2 separate regions of the Homo sapiens genome follow, and region 1 is linked to region 2. The links are contacts of gene promoters, found by promoter capture Hi-C in blood cells and fetal thymus (Javierre and others, 2016). All regions are on one chromosome and are shown on one strand. Each heading gives the region's core, a stretch centred on a gene start or on the middle of the fragment in contact. The rest is flanking DNA. Distances are from core to core; before and after follow the strand shown. Region 1 overlaps LY6E-DT (LY6E divergent transcript). Region 2 holds the start of THEM6 (thioesterase superfamily member 6).

Region 1 (5,210 bases), core at 427-2,926, 260 kb after region 2:
CTGCCTCAGCCTCCCGAGTAGCTGGGACTGAAGGCATGTGCTTCCACGCCCGGCTAATTTTTGTATTCTTGTATTTTTAGTAGTGATGGGTTTCATCATGTTGGCCAGGCTGGTCTCAAATTCCTGACTTCAAGTGATCTGCCCACCTTGGCCTCTCAAAGTGCTGGGATTACAGGCGTGAGCCACCACACCCGGCCCCCTTTTATTTTAAATAGAAGATTTTATGAGAAATGACTGCTAAATTTCGTCAAGTACTTTTTTCACTAATTACAACATAATTACATGATTTGTGTACTTTAGTGTACTGATGTAATGTATTATATTCTGCTTCCTAATATCAAGTCACTGTTACATGTATGCAATCAAAGCTTGACTATGGTGTGCTGTTCCTTAATAAATGACTGTGTACAAATTTATGATATTTTATTTGGATTTTTGCGTCCATTTTACAAAATAAATTGGAATATTTTTCTCATACTATATCAAAATTTGATACGAAGTTACATTAGCTATATAATATGAATTGGAAAAATTTTCACCTTTTTCTATTTTCTGGAATATTTTTTAAAATACTAGAAGAACTTGTTCCTTACCAATGAGGAAGAAGTCAGCTTTAAAACCATTTGGTGTTGGCACATTTTGCACTAACAAATGTTAAATGGACTTGCCAATTTCTTCCTTTTTTGATTTACCCAAGTTTTCCACTTATTCTGGTAATGTATTTCCTCTCAATTTTCACATTTCTTGCCATAAAATTATACATATGATATAATTCACTTAATCATTTTATTTTTTATAGTCATGTCTTTGTTGAAATATGTTCCGACGTCTTTGATACCCCTCCTTTCTAAAGGCAGAATCAGCCTTAGAGGCTCACACCCCACACATGGAATGTGGCAGAGTGACACTGTGTGACTTCAGACATGAGGCTGCAAAGAACACTGCAGCCTCCGCTGTGCTCTCTGGGATCCCTGCGTGGAGGAAGAGGCCACCCATGAGGACACTCAGCGAAGACGTGCAGAGATGACCACGTGCCAAGAATCCAAGGCCTCCCGCCAAAGGGCAGCATCTGCCTGCCGGCAGCACAGTGCACCATCTAGGAGATGGGTCCTCCAGCCCTAGCCGAGCCTTCGGACCACTTCACCCCAGACAACATCTAGCCTCACGCAGCCGGAACCACCTGTGGCGAAGGCTAAAATGACTCCATCTTGGATGCTGACCCGCCATGTGGACTTCCGATGAACCCTAGTTCTGGGTCCTTAGGTCAAAACAACCTTAATGTTATTGTAAACACAAAATCCTGCCCTTAAGCGAGTTACAGGCTGCGGTGCAGGTGGCATTCTTGCCTTCTCCTGAGGGTGGACCAGCAGGCGGCATTCTTGCTTCTTCCTGAGGGGTAGGCCAGTTGTCTTACACATCCTTCTGAAGCTCCCGCTCCCTTTCCCTCTGCTACCTAAGCCCTGGGTCCGCGGGTAGCAATGCATGGATCTCGCGGCCGCCCGCACCGTGGCTTCTGCTCCCATCGCACTGTTGAATGTTTCTTTCTGAGAAACAGGATTTGTCGGCCTTTTTCTTCAGCCTCTCAGCTCCCTCAGCCTTTGTGGGTAAGTGGCATAGACCTGCTCGCCACAGAGCGCCACCCAGCAGGCTTTTCTGAACAACCCACAGAAACTGCGATCGTAAATGCTTTTTGACGTTGTAAACCTCTAAGTTTCAGAGCAATTCTTTTAATGTGACAATAGATAACTAATGCACCAGTATTGTTTTATTTTCTCTCTCCCATTTATTTTCAGCCAGCCAGAAAAAAGCAGTCTGTTTGTCGAGCTGATCCTGTAAATCTGATGTTAGTAAAAACGGGGACCCTGCCTCCCTACTGAGACCAACCCCCATCCCCATCCTGTCCACACCCTGCACAGCTACGGCAGTGAGTTTCAATCTACGGCGGGCTTTGGAAATACTCACAGTTAAATGCCAACAATGACCACCTGTTTCCTCAGGTTGGTTTAGGAGACCGTGAAACCCTCTACTCACCTCCAATTCCCAATTAATCACACTCATGGCCGCTTGCTGTTTCTACGAACGAAAAGCCTGCATTCCAGCAGATGTGAGCGTCTCCAGAATCTCCGCTTGAGTTGCCCCAGAAACACCTAGAGCCCAGTCTCCACGCCTGCGGGGGAGCCACACTCCCCGGGCTGCTGCGGCCCCCAGGGTGCCACCTCCCTCTGCAACAGCCTTTAACAGCTCTGCAAGTTCTGTGGGGCTGTCCCACGGAGAGGTGAGGTCTGAGAAGGGAGTGGAGGCACAGGGCTCCTGCGGCCACGTCAGAAACGCCCTGCAGCTCCCACCTGACATCTTCGGAGGCTCCACGAGAGGAGACCAGCCCCATGCGGAAAAGCCCAGCACCCTGTGAGCGCCACTCTGCAGACACCATGTGTGGCGTCCAGGCAACAGCCCCGCCAGAGCTCCAGCCTCATGGGTGTCCCATCTTGGACTCACAGCCCAGTGACTTCTGAACACACTCATATGACAGACTCAGGAAAGAATTGCCCCAAAGACCCCTCCCCGAATTCCTCACCCTAAAATATGACCAAAATAAGATGGCTGTTTTCAGCTGTAAGTTGGGGATGTGTCGCACGCCGACAGAGACAGGAGCGCCCTCCTTCCAAACCATAAACCTAGCATCGCTCGACAGCACCGAAGCCACTTCCAGACACTCTGCTGAAAGGAGTTTGGGAAACGTGTTTGGCTTTCTAGTCTCTGCGGGAGAGCAAGGTGTGCCCACAGAGGGCAGAATGGATGTAGTGGGGCCGCCTCTGGACATCCCAGCCTCTGAGTCTCAACCAAGCCAGCACGCCGTCGCGGGCGAACCCATGCAGGGCTCCTTGCCGTCTCTGAGCTGGGACGTCCACAGCGCTAAGTGACTGAACGCGACATGACATGTGCACAGGAGGGCTCTGGAATGGCCACCTGTGTGTCTAATTCAAAAAGCTTTCATTTTACACACCCCTGACACAGTGCACCAAGAGCCTGGCTCCCAGGCTCACAGCACGTCCATGCATGGGGGGAGCGTGTGTACACATGCATGCATGTGATGTGCTGTGGTGTGCGTGGTGTGCCCGTGCACAAATGTGTGTGTCAGTGTGTGGGTATGATGGGCGTGCACGTTTATGTATGGTGTGTATGTGGGTGTGAGGTAGGTGTGCATGTGTGTGGTGTGTGTGGGGGTGTGAGGTAGGTGTGCATGTGTGTGGTGTGTGGGTGTGTGGTAGGTGTGCATCTGTGTGGTGTGGGTGTGTGGGTGTGATAGGTGTGCATATGTGTGGGGGTGTGTGGTAGGTGTGCATGTGTGTGGTGTGTGGGTGTGGTAGGTGTGCATGTGTGTGGTGTGTGGGTGTGGTAGGTGTGCGTGTGTGTGGGTGTGGTAGGTGTGCATGTGTGTGGTGTGTGTAGGTGTGTGGTAGGTGTGCATGTGTGTGGTGTGTGTGTGTGGTAGGTGTGCATGTGTGTGGTGTGAATGTGTGGGTGTGTGGTAGGTGTGCATGTGTGTGGTGTGTGTGGGTGTGGTAGGTGTGCATGTGTGTGGTGTGTGTGTGGTAGGTGTGCATGTGTGTGGTGTGTAGGTGTGTGGTAGGGGTGCATGTGTGTGGGGGTGTGGTAGGTGTGCATGTGTGTGCAATGTGGGTGTATGGGTGTGTGGTAGGTGTGCGTGTGTGTGTTTGGTAGGTGTGCATTTGTGTTGTGTGTCTATGCGTTTGGTAGGTATGCATTTGTGGTGTGTGTGTGTGTGTGTGTGTGTGTGTGTGTAAGGATGGGTTCACAGTGCACTGGGCCTGGCCTCGTGAAACCCGTGTTTGGAATATGTGGTTCCAGTCTCATAACCTACATGGGCAACCCCACATTGTCCCGCCCCTGGCTACCGCACAAAGAGAGGTTTCTCCCGCTGCGCCTCAGGGGTGCTACTCAGCGCTTTTTCTGTCCAGGAAAGCCTCCCCAGCATCCACCCCACCACTCACAGCTTCCACCCACCGCCCACAGCCTCCAACCACAGCCTCCACCCACCACCCACAGCCTCTATCCACCACCCACAGTCTCCACCCATGGCCTCTAACCACCCACAGGCTCTACCCACCACCAACAGCCTCCACCCACCACCCAGTCTCCACCCACAGCCTCCACCCACCACCCATAGCCTCCACCCAGCCTCCACCCAGTCTCCACCCACAGCCTCCACCCACCACCCACAGCCTCCACCCACAGCCTCCACCCACCACCCACAGCCTCCACCCACCACCCACAGCCTCCACCCACCACCCACAGCCTCCCTAGCCTCCACCCACAGCCTCCACCCACAGCAGCAGGTGAGCACAGGCGGGCATTCTTCCCAACCCCAGGAAACTCCAAAGAGCAGATTTGCCTTCTAGAGGAAAGGAACCCCAAGACTCCAGTTGGGGAGACTTGCTGGGCAGGCCTGGGGCCCCTGAGCAGGCCCAAGGCAGGGAGCAGCTAAGGCCTCCAAGAACAAAGCAGTGACCCTGGGCGCTCCCTGAGCAACTGGAAGCACCGGGTGTTCTGACAGCCCCCAGGAGCTGAGGAGAGGGGCAGGGCCCCAGGCCGACCATAGCCTCCACATTCATAGCACTCTTTGCTGGCCCAACCTTCCAAGATGTTTATCTTTCCATAAACAAGAAAAGAACACCTCAACTGCAACTTTAGCCTGCAACACCCGGTCCCCAAAGCTAGTCTGTTAGAATGCACACCGACAAGCTGGATTCCAAGCGGACCTTCCCAGGTGCAGAACAAAGGCCAGGTGAGATTCCTCTGCCTACCTGAGACCAGAGGTCAGCAGGATTAACTCTTCCTTTGCCTCCCCTCATCCCCAGCAATGTTTGCCCACGGATTACTGTTGGGCACTCGTTAATGAAACCAATTTGCCTAAACGCCTGCCCCCTCTTCCTGCGCTCCTTCTCCCGGTTAAAGAAACGTGTTTATACTGAGCCCCCTACAGACCTCCTCAGAGGACACGGGCCACAGAAGCTTCTGGGCCCACATTTTTCCCGACCATGCCCTCAAGCTGTGGCTCAACAAGCTTCAGCTGATGGAGACCCCTGCTTCAGTCTCCCAGGTTGGCCCTGGGTAAAGGATGAGAAACCCCATCAGACGTGAGAGGGATCAGACATCGAGGCTGCAGGTTTTGGGCTAAACTGACTTAG
Region 2 (5,963 bases), core at 3,464-5,963:
ACTTAGGGCAGTGGTGGCCACCAGCCTCCTGGTCAGAGAGGCCTCCCAACTCACATGAGGCCAACCCCTTCAGGTTGACACTCCTCACCAGGTCTGGAATGTGTTAGAAATAAAAGAGCACCACTGGCTGGGGAAGCCTAACTTTATAGCAGGCCCTGCTGCTAGACACCCTCGACTGAACCTTAAAGGTGTGTTAGACCTTGAATCCTGCTGCCCTGGTTCCCTCGCCCACTTCAGAGACACAAACACACTTGTGTGGAGACTTTAGAGCAGACCTATTCTAGACAAATGGACCTGCAGGACTCCCCCTTAGAAAATACAGATAAAGAATTATTTACATCTGGGAACAGCTTTGTAGAAAATGGCATCCAAAAGACAAGCTATGCTGCTGTTGGCTTGAACCACATTGTAGAAGCAAAAGCCCTTGCCCCAAGCACTTCCACTCATGAAGCAGAGCTCAAAGCCCTAGTCATGGCTCTTTAACTAAGGGAAGGAAAATACTTAATGTATATCCTGCCTCTAAGTATGGATTCCTAGTGCTCCATGTTCATGCAGCTGTCTGGAAAGAGAGGAGATTGTGGACTCCTAGGAGCTCCCCCATAAAACATAAAAAAGTGATTCTGTCCCTTCTTGAGGCAGTTCAGCTCCCTGCCCAGATAGCTGTCATGCACCATGAAGGGCCCCAGCAGGCAGTTCTTTAACCAGCCGAGGAGACAGCTGAGCTGGTGAAGCTGCCAAACAGGTGGCCCAGACAGAGCGGCTTGGCCCCTTGGCTCCTGTAACCCATGTTCCTACCATAGGAAGGAGGGGCACTGGGAAAGGGACTGCTCATTCCATCCTAGGAAGCTGGGACAGAATGAATCTGCCCAACCCACTCCTCCTGTTGCTAGCCGCTTCCTAGCCACTTTCTTCTAGACGAAGATTTAAATCAGGTGGTAAAATACATCATTAACTTGGGACAAGTTCAGCAGGCCATCTTGCAATATGATAATAAGATGTGACCTCAGCCGGGTCATGGAGTTTCAGATCATTTCCCTGCTAGCCCAGGTGCACAGGTCCTACTCAAGACATGGCGAAAAGGAAGCCCAGAGGCTTAGTTCACTGAGAAATGAAAGGGTCCATACCAGGTTTCCTTGGCTACTCCATCAGCTGTACAGTTGGAAGGACTTGTCTCTAGAATAAAACCTTTTGCTTCTCCTGATGGACGACAGGCCTGCTTGGAGAAAACAGTCTACTCCCGTAAACCTATAGAGGACCTCAAGTATTTGTTCAAGAAGCTGCCTCTGGAAGACAGCAATAGTTAAGTAACATCCTTATATAAATGATATATACCAGGGGATATGCAGACTATCTTCAGGACCCTGGCTTGATACCCCCAACTGCACAATTCATAACCTGAACCTCTCCATTCTCAATGACACCAGGGGATATGCAGACTATCTTCAGGACCCTGGCTTGCTACCCACCAACTGCACAATTCATAACCTAAATCTCTCCATTCTCAATGACACCAGGGGACATTCGAATTTGGGCTCCTCTTGGAATTGTTTTCCCTCGAGGCCACGCTAATGACCTCCTCAACCACCCTGCTTGCCTAGCTCTTTCCCCCTGCATGGCTCTGTGGGCTTGGACACCCCAAGCCCAGGCCAAGGAAGGGCCAGGTCTGGCACCCAGAAGTCCCCCACTTGACCTTGACTCCTTCAAGTCCCCCAATAAACTGCCAGTGAACCACCACAAGCTGCCCAAATCCATTGCGTTAGACTGATGCAACTGAGTGATGGGGAAGGTGTGGGTCCCTCCAGCTTTCGTGGGTGCTAAGACTGCTGGGTGTCTGGCACTGCTCTGGCCCTGGGACACAGCAGTTAGGAGGCCAACCAGGCCCTGGCCTTCTGGCTTCAGAGTCCAAGAGGGACAGAAGTATTCCTTGCTTATGTATTCCCTGTGTAAGATTGCAGCAAGGCTATGCACCCTGGGAGAGGTTCGCTGTGCAAGGAGAGCCCTGGGGATCTTGCCCAGTCTCTGGGCCCAGGAAGCGGAAGATGGAAGAGGAGGGAACAGCATGTGGGTGGGAGGGGAGCTGGGAGAGCAGAAGTTGGGAATGAATGGGCAGGGGCAGGAGCAGAGGAGGTCTGGAGGGTGGGTAGAGACCTTGGAAGCTCCAACTGGTTTCTCATTCATCCATCTTCACCGGTATCTCCAGGGCTAAGCCTCCAGCTCTGGGTCCCTCCCCTGGCAGGAGAGGACACAGTGGTGTAAACCAAAAATGAAATTCTAAGCACCCCCACCATCTGAATGCACCCCTGCTCTTGACCAAGGGCAGTCCAGGGTTAACCTGAAACACTAGTTCAGACCACGACAGGAAATGGGTGTTGGATATGCCTCACTGTACCCTCCTCCCTTTGGATTTCAGGCCCAGCTGACCAGCAGTAACATCAACACACCCCTTAAAGACTGAGAGAACAGACTCTTTAAGTCTGATGAGAAACATTTACAATCTATTCTCTCTGAAGCCTGCTACCTGGAGGCTTCATCTGATCATGAAACACTGGTCTCCACGACCCCTTATCTTAACCAGACATTCCTTTCTATTAATGCTAAGTCTTTAAAAAATAACTTTTTTTTTTTTTTTTTTTTTGGAGAAGTGAGGTCTCTCTATGTTGCCCAAGCTGGTATCTAACTCCTGGGCTCAAATGGTCCTCAGCCTCCCCATGGCAAGGATTATAGAAATGGCCCACCATGCCCGGTCAACTTAACTCTTTCAATCAATTGCCAATCAGAAAATCTTTGAATCTGCCTATGACCTAGAAGTCCCTCTGTCACTTCCAGTTGTCCCCACCTTTCTGGACCAAACCAATGTCCATCCTGCAAGTATTCATTGATGTCTTATGTCTCCCTAAAATTTGTAAAACCCAGTTGCAGGCTGACCACTCTGGGTACAAGTTCTCAGGATCTTCTGAGGCCGTGTGACAGGCCACAGTCACTTAGATTTGGCTCAGAATAAATCTCTTCAAACATTGCACAGTGTTTCACTCTTTTTGTTGGCAAGGGGACAACATGGGTGACCAGGAGGCTGCATTCTTTGAGCAATGGCCAACAGGCTCAACGGCTATGTCCTCAGTCCCTTCAGCCCAAAAGGCCACCCCTCCCTGGGGCAGAGGGCTCAGAGCCCAGCTACGACAAGGTGACACTTCAGGGACAAGTGTGAGCAATGCTAGGGTGTTGGGAATAGGCCCCCAAAATCTGGCCATAAACAAAATCTCTGCAGCACTGTAACATGTTCATGATGGCCATGATGCCCACGCTGGGAGGTTGTGGGTTTACCGGAATAAGGGCAAGGAACACCTGGCCCACCCAGGGCAGAAAACCGCTTAAAGGCGTTCTTAAACCACAAACAATAGCATGAGCCATCTGTGACTTAAGGACATGCCCCTGCTGCAGATAACTAGCCAAACCCACCCCTTTATTTTGGCCCATCCCTTTGTTTCCCTAAGGGGTACTTTTAATCTATAATCTGTAGAAACTGTGCTTATCACTGGCTTGCTGTGAATAAACACGTGGGTAAATCTCTGTTGGAGGCTCTCAGCTCTGAAGGCTGTGAGACGCCTGATTTCCCACTCCACACCTCTATATTTCTGTGTGTATCTTTAATTCCTCTAGCACCGCTGGGTTAGGGTCTCCAGGACCGAGCTGGTCTCGGCACTGGGGGAGCTGCCCTGATAGGTAGTGAGCTCCCTGTCCCTGGGGCTATCAAGCAGAGCCAGGTGCCGCCCCAGGGAGCTCCTTCTTTGAGGGCGGTCCAGAACCCTGGAACCCCAGCCCAGGCCCAGGCCTGAATCCGGAGCTTGTTTAACCCAGCAATTCCGGGACCCCATCCCCGGTCGCTGGCATCCGCTGTCATTCGAGAGCCTGGGGCTGACGGGGAGAGCTGGTCCGGCCTTCTCTGGGCCGCCTTTCCTCCCCAGCCTCGTCAGGAAGGGGCACAGGACAGCCGAGCTGTGCGACAGCCCGCTGGGCCTGCGCCCCAGGGCCTCCGGCGACACTTGGAGTCCGCAGCTGAGTCACTGACTCTCACCCGGGCTCCCCCGCTTCCGCCCGGCCGTGATTTGCTCCGGTTTCAAAAGGGAGGAAGGGCGGGAATGCTCGGGAAGAGCCTGGGGTTGGCAGGACCTTTAGGGGGTGGAATGAATGTCGTGAGGGCGAGTAAGGAGGTACCGGCTGGGGCTGAAAATGCGCACGGGGACCATGAGCGTGATTCGCCCTGAGCCGCTGCGAACGCCCTGCGAGCTGGGGTGGCCCTGGAGGTCCTGGAGCAGAAGCTAGGTTCCCGCAGAGTCCGCTGCAGCGCCGCTGGCGATCGGGCTGGGTCCCATTTTCCACGAAAAGTCCCGCGGCTTCGGCCGCGGAGGTGCTGGAGCCTTTGCGCTCAGACGAAGGGCCGAACGGCCAGGGCCAGGCCGCGTCTTCAGAGCCTGGCGAGGGTCTCGCGCTGCTGGGAAGGCGGAGACGCCGGGGCGCGCGTGCACCCTCGCGCCTGCAGCGCCGCGCACGGCCGCCAGGTGCCGCTGTGGCGCTCAGCGCGCCGCCCGCCCCGCCCCAGGGAACGCGAAAGTGGCGCGGGCCTGGACGGCGGGACGGACCACGTAGGGCGCTGAGAAGGTCGCGCCACGGTGGGCGGGGCTCCGGGCCCCTCCCCCTCGGCCGCCCTCGCGCTGTGGTTCGCTCCGGGCGCGCTGCGCTCGTGAGTTCCCAGGAGGCCTGGCGGGCACCGTAACCAGCGCCGCGGACACCGGCACCGGCGCCACGGACTCCGCAGGACCCCGCGCCCGCCGCCGCCGCTATGCTGGGGCTGCTGGTGGCGTTGCTGGCCCTGGGGCTCGCTGTCTTTGCGCTGCTGGACGTCTGGTACCTGGTGCGCCTTCCGTGCGCCGTGCTGCGCGCGCGCCTGCTGCAGCCGCGCGTCCGTGACCTGCTAGCTGAGCAGCGCTTCCCGGGCCGCGTGCTGCCCTCGGACTTGGACCTGCTGCTGCACATGAACAACGCGCGCTACCTGCGCGAGGCCGACTTTGCGCGCGTCGCGCACCTGACCCGCTGCGGGGTGCTCGGGGCGCTGAGGGAGTTGCGGGCGCACACGGTGCTGGCGGCCTCGTGCGCGCGCCACCGCCGCTCGCTGCGCCTGCTGGAGCCCTTCGAGGTGCGCACCCGCCTGCTGGGCTGGGACGACCGCGCGTTCTACCTGGAGGCGCGCTTTGTCAGCCTGCGGGACGGCTTCGTGTGCGCGCTGCTGCGCTTCCGGCAGCACCTGCTGGGCACCTCACCCGAGCGCGTCGTGCAGCACCTGTGCCAGCGCAGGGTGAGCGGCCCCCGCCCCTGGCCCCGGAGCACGGCCTTTGTGGGACCTCCGGGGGCTCCTCCTAGTCCCTGGCCCCCTCCCCTAGGGAAGGCCCGCTGCCTGCACCTCTTTCGGATACTGCTGGAGTCCTGCCTCTTACCGCTCCCGCCCCTCCCTCTCTACCGGGGGCATTCCTCACTGATGCCTTTGTTCGTGGGGGTTCCTAGGGTCCCCGAATCAACTCTTCATAGTCGGGCTTAGCGTGCTTCCCTCCTGCCATTTCTTAACCTGGCCCCTCACGGTTTCGTGTTCACCCCTCTCCTCTCTCCTGGTACTCTGTTCTGTGGCTGGAGTGTTGACCTCTCTGGTCCTTGGTCCTGAATATAGGTTGGAGAGGTGATCAGTTAGAAGAGGTTCCTAGGAGTTCCCGAGGACCTGAGCCCCCCTTTCACACAGCTTAGAGCTGAAGGGCTGGGTTCTGGTCACCTGGGTTTGGGGTTGAGGTATTGAGCCGAGTAGCTGAAAGCCTTCTGGCCTTTCTGCAGTTGGAGAGAGGAGGGCCATGCACCTCCCAGGGCTCGCTCCTCCCAGCAGGGCAGAACCGCCCCTGCAGCATGGCACCTGGGGCCCTGGG

What was found. The method cuts DNA at HindIII sites, captures the fragments that hold promoters and counts their contacts. A CHiCAGO score of 5 or more calls a contact.
Region 1: a contact is called between a fragment that was not itself captured here and the fragment with the promoter of THEM6 in region 2, in 2 of 17 cell types (total CD8 T cells and total CD4 T cells). The highest score is 7.1, in total CD8 T cells.

Annotation. Positions count from the first base shown.
Region 1 is chr8:142,986,909-142,992,118 of GRCh38, forward strand. All of the region lies in intron 1 of LY6E-DT (LY6E divergent transcript), which reads right to left. Among named protein-coding and RNA genes, the nearest start is that of LY6E-DT, 29 kb to the right of the region's middle. RefSeq lists an enhancer at 1,828-2,329. The HindIII fragment of the contact is 2,620 bases long and covers 367-2,986 here.
Region 2 is chr8:142,722,510-142,728,472 of GRCh38, forward strand. It overlaps THEM6 (thioesterase superfamily member 6), which reads left to right and starts at 4,714. Exons shown (of 2, transcript NM_016647.3): 1 at 4,714-5,350. The coding sequence starts at 4,838. LNCOC1 (lncRNA associated with ovarian cancer 1) reads right to left here and starts at 4,464. Exons shown (of 3, transcript NR_038925.1): 1 at 4,213-4,464. RefSeq lists an enhancer at 4,220-4,439 and silencers at 4,470-4,909, 5,210-5,459. The HindIII fragment of the contact is 9,584 bases long and covers 1-5,963 here.